Regions from separate parts of the Homo sapiens genome. Here region 2 is linked to region 1. Evidence: promoter capture Hi-C in human tissues and cell types (Jung and others, 2019). All regions are on one chromosome and are shown on one strand. The core of a region is centred on a gene start or on the middle of the fragment in contact, and the rest is flanking DNA. Distances in the headings are between cores, read along the strand shown.

Evidence for each region. Contacts are between HindIII fragments. The study calls those that stand out against the background at their distance.
Region 2: a fragment that was not itself captured here is called in contact with the fragment with the promoter of ATPAF1 in region 1 in 1 of the 25 tissues and cell types used here (neural progenitor cells).

The regions. Positions count from the first base shown.
Region 1 is chr1:46,664,823-46,671,226 of GRCh38, reverse strand. ATPAF1 (ATP synthase mitochondrial F1 complex assembly factor 1) reads left to right here and starts at 2,863. Exons shown (of 9, transcript NM_001394565.1): 1 at 2,863-3,170; 2 at 5,863-5,971. The coding sequence starts at 2,905. It also overlaps the pseudogene NENFP1 and a transcript of TEX38 not described here. RefSeq lists enhancers at 2,414-2,563, 4,359-4,887, 4,888-5,417 and silencers at 3,076-3,246, 2,674-3,293. The HindIII fragment of the contact is 2,569 bases long and covers 1,414-3,982 here.
Region 2 is chr1:46,627,581-46,633,984 of GRCh38, reverse strand. ATPAF1 (ATP synthase mitochondrial F1 complex assembly factor 1) reads left to right here. Exons shown (of 9, transcript NM_001394565.1): 9 at 1-1,248. Among named protein-coding and RNA genes, the nearest start is that of MOB3C, 14 kb to the right of the region's middle. The HindIII fragment of the contact is 3,743 bases long and covers 430-4,172 here.

The DNA.
Region 1 (6,404 bases), core at 1,614-4,113:
CACATCTCTGGAGGTGTGCCCATGCTGCTCCTTCACCCAGGAGTGCCCCTGCCCACTTTTCCACCACTGAACACCTGCTCATCCTTCAAGACTCAGCTCAGCCCCCCTACTCTGTGACAGACTGCCCAGAATCATATCATCGCCAATTTGAAGAAACTTTGAGAGTTGTCTAGTTCATCTCCACCATCTGATCCCACCATCAGGGCCATGCTTGACTCCTGGGGGTAGATTTTTCCCCACACAGCAACTAATCTCCCTGGACTCAAGACTCACTTGAGTCAGGAACTTGCTCACCACCTCCTGAGGCAGCTTGATGCATTTATGGGCAGCTCAGTTAGAAAGCCCTTCCCTAATTAAGCTTAAGTCAGCCTTCCCAGTATGTTGCACCACTGCTTGTAGCTCAGCTTCTTAGCACCATTTTAATGACTCCCCTCTTTATAGTCCTCCAATGTGTGACTTAGGGAACTATTTAGCACAGAATTCTCTCCAGGGTCCACTTACCCTTGTTCTCCTCGTATATCACTGGCCCCTACTTTCCAGTCTCCTTTGCTGGTTTCTCCCTTTTCCCCTGATCTCTAAATGTAGGCATGTCTAGGGCTCAGTTCTTAGTGCTCTATCTACATTCATTCCATCAGTTATCTCACCCAGACCCCTGGCTTTAAATATCACTATACACTGACAGTACGCAACTGTATCTCTCCAGCCTGGAATGCTCCTCAGAACTTTAGACTCATACCCAAATACCTGGTTGACATCCCTCCTTGCCAGTCTGTTAAATTATCCCAAACCAACATGTCCAAAACCAAACTCTGATTATCCATCCTCCAAAGTCTACCCTACCTACAGCCTTCCTCCTCTTCATAAGTAGTATCTCTGTCCTTCGGGTTGTTCAGGCCAAAAACCTGCAAGTCATCCTTGACTCCTTTCATTCTATCACACCCACACTGACTCCATCAGCAAGATCTTTAGGCTTTTATTTCAAAATATAACCAAAATCTGGCCACTTTTTTTTATCACTATCACTTTAGTCCAAGTACCACCATCTCTCACTTGGATTACTGTTCCCTGTAGGGTGACCAACATCCTGGTTTGCCCAGGACTTGGGGTGGGTTCTCAGGACATGGGGCTTTCAATGCTAGAGCCAAGAAAGTCCTAGGCAAACTGGAATAAATTAGTCACCCTTGGGAGAGTTTCCATCCTTGCCTCCACATATCCTAAATCCCACCAGCAGCCAGCATGATCCTTTTAAAAAGTAGATCATGTTACTCCACTGCTTAAAACATATAGTAACTTCCGATCTCATTCGATTTAAAATCAAAGTCCTTAACCAAGGCCTAAGCAATCTAACTAGCCCTCCCTATACCTTCTTGGTCTCATTTCTGCTGCTGTGCCCTCACTCATTCAGACTCAATAACCTCCTCATCAGGGCCTTTGCACTTGCTGTTTCCCCTACCTGGAAGGCTCTTCCCCCAGCATTCCCACATTACCTTCAGGTCTCTGCTCAAGTGTCCCCTTATCTCTATCTCTCTTGGCCTGCTGTTTTTCTGCATACCATGTAGCATCACCTAACATTATATATTTACTGTCTGTTTCACTCCACTAGAATGTAAGCTCAATGAATTAATATAAACAAGGATCTAAGAACTTCAGATAATGATAACTGCTATAAAGAGAATGCAATAGAGTGATGGGATAAAGACTATAAAGAGATGGAGGGGTTGTCATTTAGGTCCCTTGGAGGTGCTTACATGTGAACTGAGCCCTTAGATGATGAGGAGGCAGCCACATGCAGATCCACAGAGAAAACAGCAAGTGTTAGGAGTGTGAGCCAGGTATGGGCTGGCATACTTGAAGGACTTATTCATCTTCCATTACACTGTTCCTCGCACAGGGCAGGGCTCAGGGCTGATCTCCATGAGCATAGGTTGGATTGAGCAGAGTTGAAGGCTCTGCCCCTGTCCCAGGAGGGGCTTCAATCAGACAAAACCCAGACAAGAAGGACCTGATGATGAGTACTGTCCCAGAGAGCCCACTCCAGGACTGGCCCTGTTCTGTGAGCAGGTGGGACACAGAGATGTTAATGTCACTGTCCCTGACCCTAGGAGCTCACACCTGGTTCAGACGGTAAGGAAGATTGTGGCATTTGGGTTGAGAGAATGGAAGGAGAGAGGATTCCAGGGGTCAAAAAGGGCCTGAATAAGGACTCTTCAAGGAGTAATCCTGGTGTTTCTTTGGGAGAGAATAGGTCACTGTGGCTGGAGTTCAAGGAGGATGTCAGGAAGCAGAGGAAAAGGAGGCTTGGGAGGCAGCTGCCATCTTGAAAAGAGCTCAGCTGTCGGGTAGAACTTGAACAAGTCACATAATTACTCTCGGCCTCAGTTTCCTTATTTGTTAGATGAGGATAATACTGCCACACAGAGTATGAAGCCGCTCAGTGTCCTGCACATAGCAACCTCAGTAAAGAGAAGCTTGCTGCTGTGATTATAGTTGATGAAAAGACCTTCGATGCTGAAGGACGGACTACTACATCGAGTGCCTGGCACTACAGCGAGTGCCAGGGGCAAGCACCGCGAGGACATGGAGATCCGCTGGCTTTAGAGAACGGACTTGGCGCGCAGAGGCTGCTGGTCCCAGAGGGAGGAAGGGCGTTGAATTTGGGCAGCCTCCCTGGAGGAGGCGGGCCGTGGCATACACAGGGCGGCGAGAGCGCGCAGTGCCGGGGCCAGAGCGGCGCGCCCCCTCCTCCCCGCCCCGCCTCGCCGCTATCCCGCGCCCGGAACCTTGGGCGCGCGGAACCTCGGTGCCGGAGCGCGGGCGCGGCGCACTCGGAGCGGGATGGAGCGGGCGCGCGGGCCGCGGGCCGAGGCCGACGCGCCTGAGGAGGAGGAGGAGGCGGGGGCGGCCATGGCTGCTGTGGTGGTGGCGGCTGCGGGTGGCGCGGGACCGGCGGTCCTGCAGGTGGCCGGTCTCTACCGGGGCCTGTGCGCGGTGCGCAGCCGCGCCCTGGGCCTGGGGCTCGTGTCACCCGCGCAGCTGCGCGTCTTCCCAGTGCGCCCCGGCTCGGGCCGGCCCGAGGGGGGCGCCGACAGCAGCGGGGTCGGGGCCGAGGCCGAGCTCCAGGCCAACCCTTTCTACGACCGCTACCGCGACAAGATCCAGCTGCTGCGCAGGTGCGGGCCTGGGTTGGCTGGAGGCGGGCAGGAGGCGGGAGGAGGGGCGGCCCGGGCTGCTGGGCCTTAGGACAGCCCTGTGAGGTGGGCACTAGTACTGTCCCAGCTCTTCAGATGATGTAGCCAGGCTCCGCGAGGCTAGGTCACTTGCCCAAGATCACACAGCTAATTGGTGTCAGAGCTGGGAGTCTCTGCAAAGCCCTGGCTCGTTCCACGTTTGTCTGCTTTGGTTCTCCAAACGCTAAGGTGGACTCTTATGACAGCCCTGAGGCAGGCAGCTCAGAGACACCTGTCCTCATTATAGAAATGGGAAAACGCCTTCTAGAGAAGGGACTTGACTTGCTCAAGGTCACATATTAAGATAGCTGAGGCCTGGCTCAGAGCTGGAGTTCCCAGGCTGGTGGTAGCTTAGGGCCTTGACTGCAAGGAAAGGCGACTGGGGATGGGAGGAGGGCATCAAAGACTAATAGTGTCACAGTCGGATCACCCATTGAACCCTCTTAAGGAGACTGAGGATCAGCGAGAGTAAGAGACTTGCCAAAGGTCACACAGCTGTTTGGGATTTGTCTGACTCTGAGTCCAGGGTCCCTAACACCACCTCTTAGCTTCCAGAGGGAAGGATCTGGAGCTTAGAGGGGCTTAAGGTGCATATGAGGGGCTATAGGAGCATCTGAAGAGTTCAAGTGGGAAGAGCTAAAGGAGATCAGAGGTGAAAATTAAAGGGGCTTGGGAGAGAATTTAGCAGGGTAAGAAGGTAGTTGTCTTATGAAAGGAAACCAAAGACTTAGTACTGTAAATTTGAGTTCTGTCTCATCTCTACTTCCACTGCCTTAATCTACTCCATCATCGTCACCTGGGCTGTTGCCATTATCCTCTAACTAGAGTTCCCTACTTCCATTCCTGGACTACTTTACCCCAGTTCCTCTCACTGCTACTGTAGTGATCTTTCTTGCCATTTGAAACAGTTATGCAGTAAATGAATGAGTATTTTTGCTCTCCTTCCAGCAGCATTGAGATAGTCTCAAGTATTTGTCATCTTAAAAGCCTTTCTTTGATGTACATTCCCCTCCAGGCTTCTCTCGTTGATCTGTATTTGATCTGTTTTACACACAAGCATCTCTGAAGAGTTGTCTACTTGTACTTTGAATACTTTATCAGCATCCATTTATTCTTACCCACTCATGAACAAATAAATAACTGGTTTTACCGTCCTTCCCCACTGGATCATTCCCATCAACATTTACACATACTGTTATCCCCCCACTGACCTCTAAATAACATCCAAACTCCTTAATGTTTCACACAAGTTCCTCATACCCTAGTCCCTGCCAGTCTCTCTCTAGTTTTATCTGTTAGCAAACTTCCTTTGAAAAAGAATGGAGAGGAGGGGATGTTCCAGGTAAGGGGAGCAGCAACATAAACAAAGGTACAGAGGCATGAAACCACCTTAACCATTTGGGGATGTTTGAGCAAATTTTCATCATAATACCTGTTGTACTTTCATTTGTTTACTTTTATGCCTGTCTCTCCCACTGGATAGTGAGCTCCTTGAGGTAGGGAGTCTGACTTATTTATTTCTATATCCTCAGATCCCAGCAACAGCTTCACTGCCCAGGCTGTCCCTTGCCCTCTCTACCCCTTCACTATGGCAGGCCCAGTTGCAGCTGTAGCCACTAGCAGGGTTGACCCTGGTCCTGGTACAGCCCCCAGGGCTGCTTGCAGCTCTGGCCAGGCAGGTGCCATGCCCGACTAAGCAGAAACCCCTGGTGAGGCTCTTTATTGAGGAGGAGCCGGCCCACTACAGAGAGAAGAAAAACATCCCATCTACATGACAGTGAAGGGAGTGGTGTTTTATGTCACCTCCAGAAAGGAATTTTATGGAAGAAGGGGCCCCCTATAATGCATTGACCAGGAAAGTCCACCAGAGGGATAGCCAAGATGTCCCTGGGTCCTCCAGACCTCACCCATGAAACTCTGGGTCTCATGGCCAAAGAGCTGGAATCCCTGGATGATATCTTCACCAAAGTGTACAAAACCAAATATCCCATGGTTAGCTACACAGTCTGAAGAATTCTTAATAGGGACAGCACCCCAGCCTGGACTTCAAACCTGAAGACCAACCCCATTTTGACATAAACAATGTGTTCTGTTGTTTCATCTCCAAGAGCAGCTTCTTTGGAGGGTAGGTTAGGGAGATACTCAGATGCTAAATCTTCTGCAAAATAGGCTACCTAAAGCCTCTGAATCACCAGGATCTGAATAAAGCAGATGTTTAACCTGGTTGGGGGGACATATTTTCAAGAACTGGATGTATTCAAGTAAAAGCTTGACACCTAGTAAGGAGGCTATAGGATTCTTGTCTGAAGAGGTGATCCAGCAAGATGACCTCAAAATTCTAAGTACCCTGAATGTAAGTACCTGAGAGACTAAGCCCTGTGTAAACCTAGGGAACAGCCTGCAAAAGAAAAATGTTACACAGGCCCCTTGAGGATTAACAACAGTTGAATAACAGGATTTCTTTTTCCAGTTTCTTTATTTCTAGGCCTGTGCCCAGTTCTTACTAACTGAAGGCAAATTTTTCAACCTCTCTGAATGGCAGTGTCCTTTCTCTGTAGAGGTGGAAAGTGATGCTTTGTTATTTTAGAATTCAAAAAGGCCCAGTTGGTTTACCCTTTGGTTTACCTCTGATCAGGTCAGACCCAGCTGCTTTTGAGTCCCGCCTGGAGAAACGCAGTGAATTTCGGAAGCAGCCAGTGGGGCATTCCAGGCAAGGTGATTTTATCAAATGTGTGGAACAGAAGGTAAGACCTTCCCCCATTTGTGGTGTTTGCTTACCAGCACTCCTTCACCCTCCTTACCCTCACCCTTATCCTTAAAGTTGGTTTATTGATGGGTCAGCTGGGTGAACTGAACATAGTCTCTCCCAACTCCATTTCCATCCATAAATGTTTATCCTGCTCTTTCTAGGCAAAGTACTGTGGTCATGGTGGAGATATAGAAGTATGAGAGGGGTACTTCCTGCTCCCAAGAGGAGCAGTCTGGTGGTCAAGGCAAGGCACACATGGTAGTAGGCTAGAGGTATCAGAGAAAATTTCCCATGGGAGATGGAACCTGACCTAGGCTAGGAACGTTGTGGGGGATTTAAATTAAGTAGAGAGGAAGGAATGGGACTTTGATGTAGAGCAGGGGTCATCAAATTTTTTCTGTAAAGAACTAGATGTTAAATATTTTAGG
Region 2 (6,404 bases), core at 1,052-3,551, 37 kb after region 1:
CCTGGCAGTTTATCTTTTGAGAAACTTGAGTCTTATCTGCCCTGCCATTTTCATTAAATGCCTTCTGACCTTCTGAATGTTTTGGGTCCCAAGAATTTTTGACATCAGATGGGGTTGTTTTTATTGGTATCCAGTTATGTTTGCTTGTCTTTCCAGATGGGCCCAGTTATTAGCCATACATAGTACATTGATACACCTCCACCAGCGGGTGAGGAAATGATGGAAAAAGGAGTAAGAAGTGGCCATTCGTTTTAATCATTCCTCCTGGATTTGTCCTCAGTCCCCAACTGCCAAGTAGGATGTGTCCATGGATAAATGTGTGGGGCATGACTAAAGTACCACGTAGCTGTTCTTTATATTTATTTACCTAGAAAGATCTGGCAAAGAACTCAAAGAAAATTGTACCATTTAATCAGTAAATTTGTCCCCTGGTGCTAGCATGGTGTTATAGAAAGTGGACAGGCTTTAGAGTTAAGTGAATCTGGGTTCATATGTTAGTGTTGCTATTCATTAGCTCTATACTGTTGAACAAATTGCTTAAACTATCTAATTTTGGGGTTTTTTTTCCATCTAAAATAGGGATAATAATATCTACCTCATAGGATTATTGTGAGAATTAAATTAACTTCACTATAGTAGAAAATATCAACTACCATCCTTTTCTCTACTTCCCTTGCCCCTCATTAAAGACTAATACAAGTTAGCATTTCAGATGTGTAGATCATTCTTTATTCCAGTTAAAAGAACAAACTTTATCTCATCAGTTCTGAAACTTTAAGATGCAGTAGCATCACCTAAAGTGCTTTTAAAATGCAGATTCTCAGGCCTCAACCGTACACCACCCCCCCACACACGTACTAAATCAAGAATATGTGCAGAAGGTACTGGGAATCTACTTGTTAATATGTGCTCCAAATGATTCTGATGTAGGTAATTAGCCAGCCACACTTTGAGAACCACTGCCTTATCTATTCTTTACAAAAATGTACATTGCCAGGTCTTTCTTTCCTGTGGATGCTAACTATAGGATATTTAGGTTCCTCTGTTCTTTGTCTCCCATAGTGGCCCCCTTTGCAAACTCCAAATACATTATATTTATTTATTCTTGTGTCTTTTTTCCCCCACTAGACTGTGAGCTCCTTGAGGGCCAGGACTTATCTCTGTTCGCAGTGCCAAGGACATGGCCTGGACCATAGAAGATACTCAGTTTTTTGTTGAATAAATAGGTAATATGGATTTCAACCAAAACATTGTCTTGTGTATGTACCTGCATGTAAATACTCTAGATTTAAAAGAATCTCTTAATACACATAGATCGAGAATTTGTTGAGTAGAAATATTTGCAAACCAAGATACCAAGTTATACACAGTTCTCTGTACCTCACCTAATCCACTGGCATTACCTTGGTGGACCATTACACAGTACAACTTAACAGCTGCTCACAGAGCATCTATTCTGCAGCCACTATGTTAAGTGCTGGACACAGAAAGATGAGTAGAGTATGATTCCTGCTCGCAGGCTCTGTTTTAGCCACTGCCTGTTTCTCTCTTGCCTCTGATTCAGTGCCTCACACCTACACCTGATTATAGTTTGCTTTGTCTAGTTCTTGGATGTTCATACTGGTACTTCTTTCTTCTCCAACCAGTTTGGAAGCTGGAGCCACATGTTTTGCTTTGCACTCTCCATACTGACCTTTTGTTCAGTCTTGGAGAAGAGGTACTAATGCCCACTTCCTAGTCATTTGATTTGGCATTGAGTCAGCATTCATTCACACTTATTGAGCACCTTTTTGCCAAGCACTGTTATAAAAAACTGGATAATATAGCAATGAACATGGCAAATAAGGCTCCTGTTCTCATGTAGTTTATATTCTTGTAAAGAAGACAAGTAAATCAATAAAATTATTTTACATACTGGTAGTGCTATGAAAATTTAAAAATAATATTTTAGACTATGGAGTGGAGGCAATAACTTAATGGTCAGGAGAGGCATCTCTGCAGCAGTGGCAGCTGATACATGAGCTGGGGAAAGAGAACCAGGTAAAGAGAACAGCAAGTGTTAACGCCCCGGAGCAGAGCCAAGCTAGGAATGCTTGTTTCTGGACAAATATAAAGATTCAGTATCTACCCTTTAGGAGCCTACAGTTCAGCGGCATGACCTGACATGAATGATTACAATACAAGACAAACTGATCAATGCCGTCTCAGAAGGGGCAAAGAGAGTTAAGGAACTCCCCCCGCATGCTATGGAGGATGCAAAGCTTGCCAGGCTCTGGTACCCACCCATGAAGCACTTATGGCTTAATGGGGAATAACAGGTAGACAGTGTTAAAGTCTCAAAGGCTATATGTTTCTTGCAATAGACAAGAGGTACTGTGGGTTCAGTGCTGGCCTCCCAAGCTACAGTCACGTACTACATAACAATGTTTTGGTCACGTTAGATTGCATATGCAACTGTGGTCCCATAAGATTATAATGGAGCTGAAAAATTCCTATTGCCTAGTGACATCATAGCTGTGGTAATGTTATAGCACAATGCATTATGTGTTTGTGGTGATGCTGGTGTAAATCTACTACACCAGCATAGTGTATAGGGGTATAGGGTATAAAAGTATAGTGTACAGGGGCCGGGTACGGTGGCTCACGCCTGTAATCCCAGCACTTTGGAAGGCCGAGGCAGGTGGATCCCTTGAGTTTAGAAGTTCAAAACCAGCCTGGACAGCATAGCGAGACCTTGTCTCTACAAAAAAAATTTAAAAATTAACTGAGCGTGGTGGTGCACGCCTGTAGTCCCAGCTACTCAGGAGGCTAAGGTGGGAGGATCACTTGAGCCCGGGAGGTTGAGGCTACAGTGAGCTGGGATCACACTGCTGCACTCCGGCCTGGGCCACAGAGCAAGACCCTATCTCAAAAAATAAAAAGGTATAGTGCATAAAACTATGTACAGTACATAATGCTTGATAGTAAATGACTATTACTGGTTTATGTATTTACTGTATTATTTAGAGTGTGCTCCTTCTACGTATAAAAAATACTAAGTCAATTGTAAAACAGCCTCAGGCAGGTCTCTCAGGAGTTGTTCCAGAAGAGGGCATTGTTCTTATAGGAGAGGACAGCTCCATGTGTGTTATTGCCCCTGAAGACCTTCCAGTGGGACAAGATGTGCAGGTGGAAGTCAGTAATGTTGATGATCCTGACCCTGTGTAGGCCTAGGCTAATGTACATGTTTGTGTCTTAGCTTTTAACCAAAACATTTAAAAAGTAAAAAATAAAATTTTTTAAAGAAAAAAGCTTACAGAATAAAGATAGAAAATATTTTATACAGCTATACAGTGTGTTTTAAGCTAAGTGCAATTATAAAATAGTCAAAAGTTTTAAAAATTAAAAAGTTTATAAAGTTAAAAAGTTATAGTAAGCTAAGGTTATTGAAAAAAGAAAAATATTTTTATAAATTTAGTGTACAGTGTTTATAAAGCCTACTGTAGTGTACAGTAATGTCCTCCTCAGTCTTCATATTCACTCAGAACTCACTCACTGACTCATCCAGAACAACTTCCAGTCCTGCAGGCTCCATTCATTGTAAGTGTCCTATACAGCAATATCATTTTTTATCTTATACTGTATTTTTACTGTACCTTTTCTATGTTTAGATACGATAGATAAGTATTTACCCTTATATTACAGTGTCCACAGTATTCAGCACAGTAACATGCTGTACAGGTTTGCAGCCTAGGAGCAATAGGCTATATGCCATCTAGGTTTGTATAAATACATCCTATGATGTTTGCACAACAACCAAATCACCTAATGATACATTTCTCAATGTAGTCTCCATTGTTAAGCAACACTTGACTATATACACATTAACAATAACCACTAACATTTACTAAGGGCTAACCATATACCAGGCACTGTGCTAAGCCCTTACATGGATTATCTCAATCCTACCAACCCTATGAGGTTGGCAGGAACCTGCTGGTCAGTGACATGTGCTGCTCTCTCCTTGTACCCTCATGCCCCAACTCCAGCTCAGAAAAGAGAGCAACCAGCCAGGCACAGTGGCTCATGCCTGTAATCCCAACACTTTGGGAGGCCAAGGTGGGCCGATCGCTTGAGACCAGGAGTTAGAGACCAGCCTGCTCAACATAACGAAACCCCCTCTCTACTAAAAATACAAAAATTAGCTGGATGTGGTGGCACACACCTGTAATCCCAGCTACTCAGGCTGAGGTACGAGAATCACTTGAACCTGGGAGGTGGAGGTTGCTGTGAGCCCAGATTGTGCCACTGCACTCCAGCCTGGGTGACAGAATGAGACCCTGTCTCAAAAAAAAAAAAAAAAAAAAGTAAGTCATGGTTGGCTCTGGAACCAGCCCTGAGAAACATGTCTCCCAATTTTCTTGCTGGTAACTAAAGAACAAAATGCATGCATTATATACCTCTGATTCCTCCAGACAATTTTGCAAGACATCATGTTCTAACTAGGGAAGACTTCCTTCGGAGAACTTTGGTCTTGTCAATTCTTCTGATGTGACAGGTTGATAACAACATCTTTATCCTTGTTCTGCTAAAAGGGAGAGTAGGAGCACAGAAAGGGAAGAGATGACTTCAAGGTTGCTGTCTGCATCAGGAGCCAACCCAGGAATAATAATAAGTGTGTCCATGCTCCACACTTAATAGGATCATTTGTAATGTCCACTGAGCAGGCTCATTCTTCACATTCACTTGAACAGGGCTACTTCTACGCTCTTCAGGCTTTAGGAACTGGAATATCTACAAGAAAAATTGGTTCAAACCACTTAAGAATCATTACAGGTTCCCTAGGGCTTTCTGGACAAAGTCCTTTTAGATCAGCTCACAGGAGCTTCAGGATCCAGTGCATGGTGTCTTTTCCAGGCTCATTTTGTGCCTCTCCTACCTACTCCTTTGGCTCCAGCCATTCTGGATAACTTGCAGTTCCCTAAACACATTGTGCTCTTCCTACCTCTGTTCTGCTCTTTTCTAATACATTTGCCTGCTTCAAATGCCCATTCCTCCTTAAGTTAATTCAAAGCTTCACTGTAGTATCCCTATGAGAAGCCTTCCCTGAGACCTATTCCCCTCCACATGGCCCCCCTGCAAGGCTGGCTTCCCCACCAGAATGAATAGCCCTTGGAGACTGGGATCATATCTTACTGGACATTATATTCCAAGTGTCCAGCACGAAACCCGGCAGAGGGATAAGATACTCTGTGGATGCTGAACAAACTCCGTTTGAGTGACCACTAAACTCAGACCACCTGAGCCTACAAACATCGCTTGCACAGTGAGATCCAGCTCTGGCAAACACATTGTGGTTATGTCCCAGCCCAAGACAGTGGTCATTTTGCTTGCTCTTATTGCAGAGGCTGCATATGGAAAACCAAGCCAAGGGACCAACAGAGAAGGCAGTCAGGTCCAGGGTTTGTAAGCAGAAAGAACTGAGAGATGATGATGTGAACAAACTTTTGGAGCAAAACAATTATTTTAAGTACCAGGCTGGCACTTTCAAGTTCTTGTCTTGCCTTGCCAAACCTTAACATTAAAAAAGACCTGGTTGGGTTGGTGGCTTACGCCTGTAATCCCAGCACTTTGGGAGGCCGAGGCAGGCAGATCACGAGGTCAGGAGATCAAGACCATCCTGGCTAACATGGTGAAACCCCGTCTCTACTAAAAATACAAAAAAATTAGCCAGGTGTGGTGGCAGGCACCTGTAGTCCCAGCTACTCGGGAGGCTGAGGCAGGAGAATGGCGTGAACCCAGGAGGTGGAGCTTGCAGTGAGCGGAGATTGCACCACTGCACTCCAACCTGGGGGATAAAGCGAGACTCGTCTCCAAAAAAAAAAAAAAGACCTTACAGGCTGGGCGCGGTGGCTCATGCCTGTAATTCTAGCACAAGGCGGGCAGATCACCTGAAGTCAGGAGTTCGAGACCAGCGTGGCCAACATGGTGAAACCCCATCTCTACTAAAAATACAAAAATTAGCCAGGCATGGTGACAGGGGCCTGTAATCCCAGCTACTCAGGAGGCTGAGGCAGGAGAACTGCTTGAACCCGGGAGGCAGAGGTTGCAGTGAGCCAAGATCGCGCCACTGCACTCCAGCCTGGGCGACAGAGTGAGACTCGGTCTCAAAAAAAAAAAAAGGGTGGGGGGTGGGCGGCCGAGAGCAGTGGCTCACAGCTGTAATCCCAGCACTTTGGGAGGCCAAGGTGGGCAAATCACAAGGTCAGGCGATCAAGACCATCCTGGCCAACATGGTGAAACCCTGTCTCTACTAAAAATACAAAAATTAGCTGGGCATGGTGGCACATGCCTATAATCCCAGCTACTCGAGAGGCTGAGGCAGGAGACTAGCTTGAGCCAGGGAGTCGGAGGTTGCAGTGAGC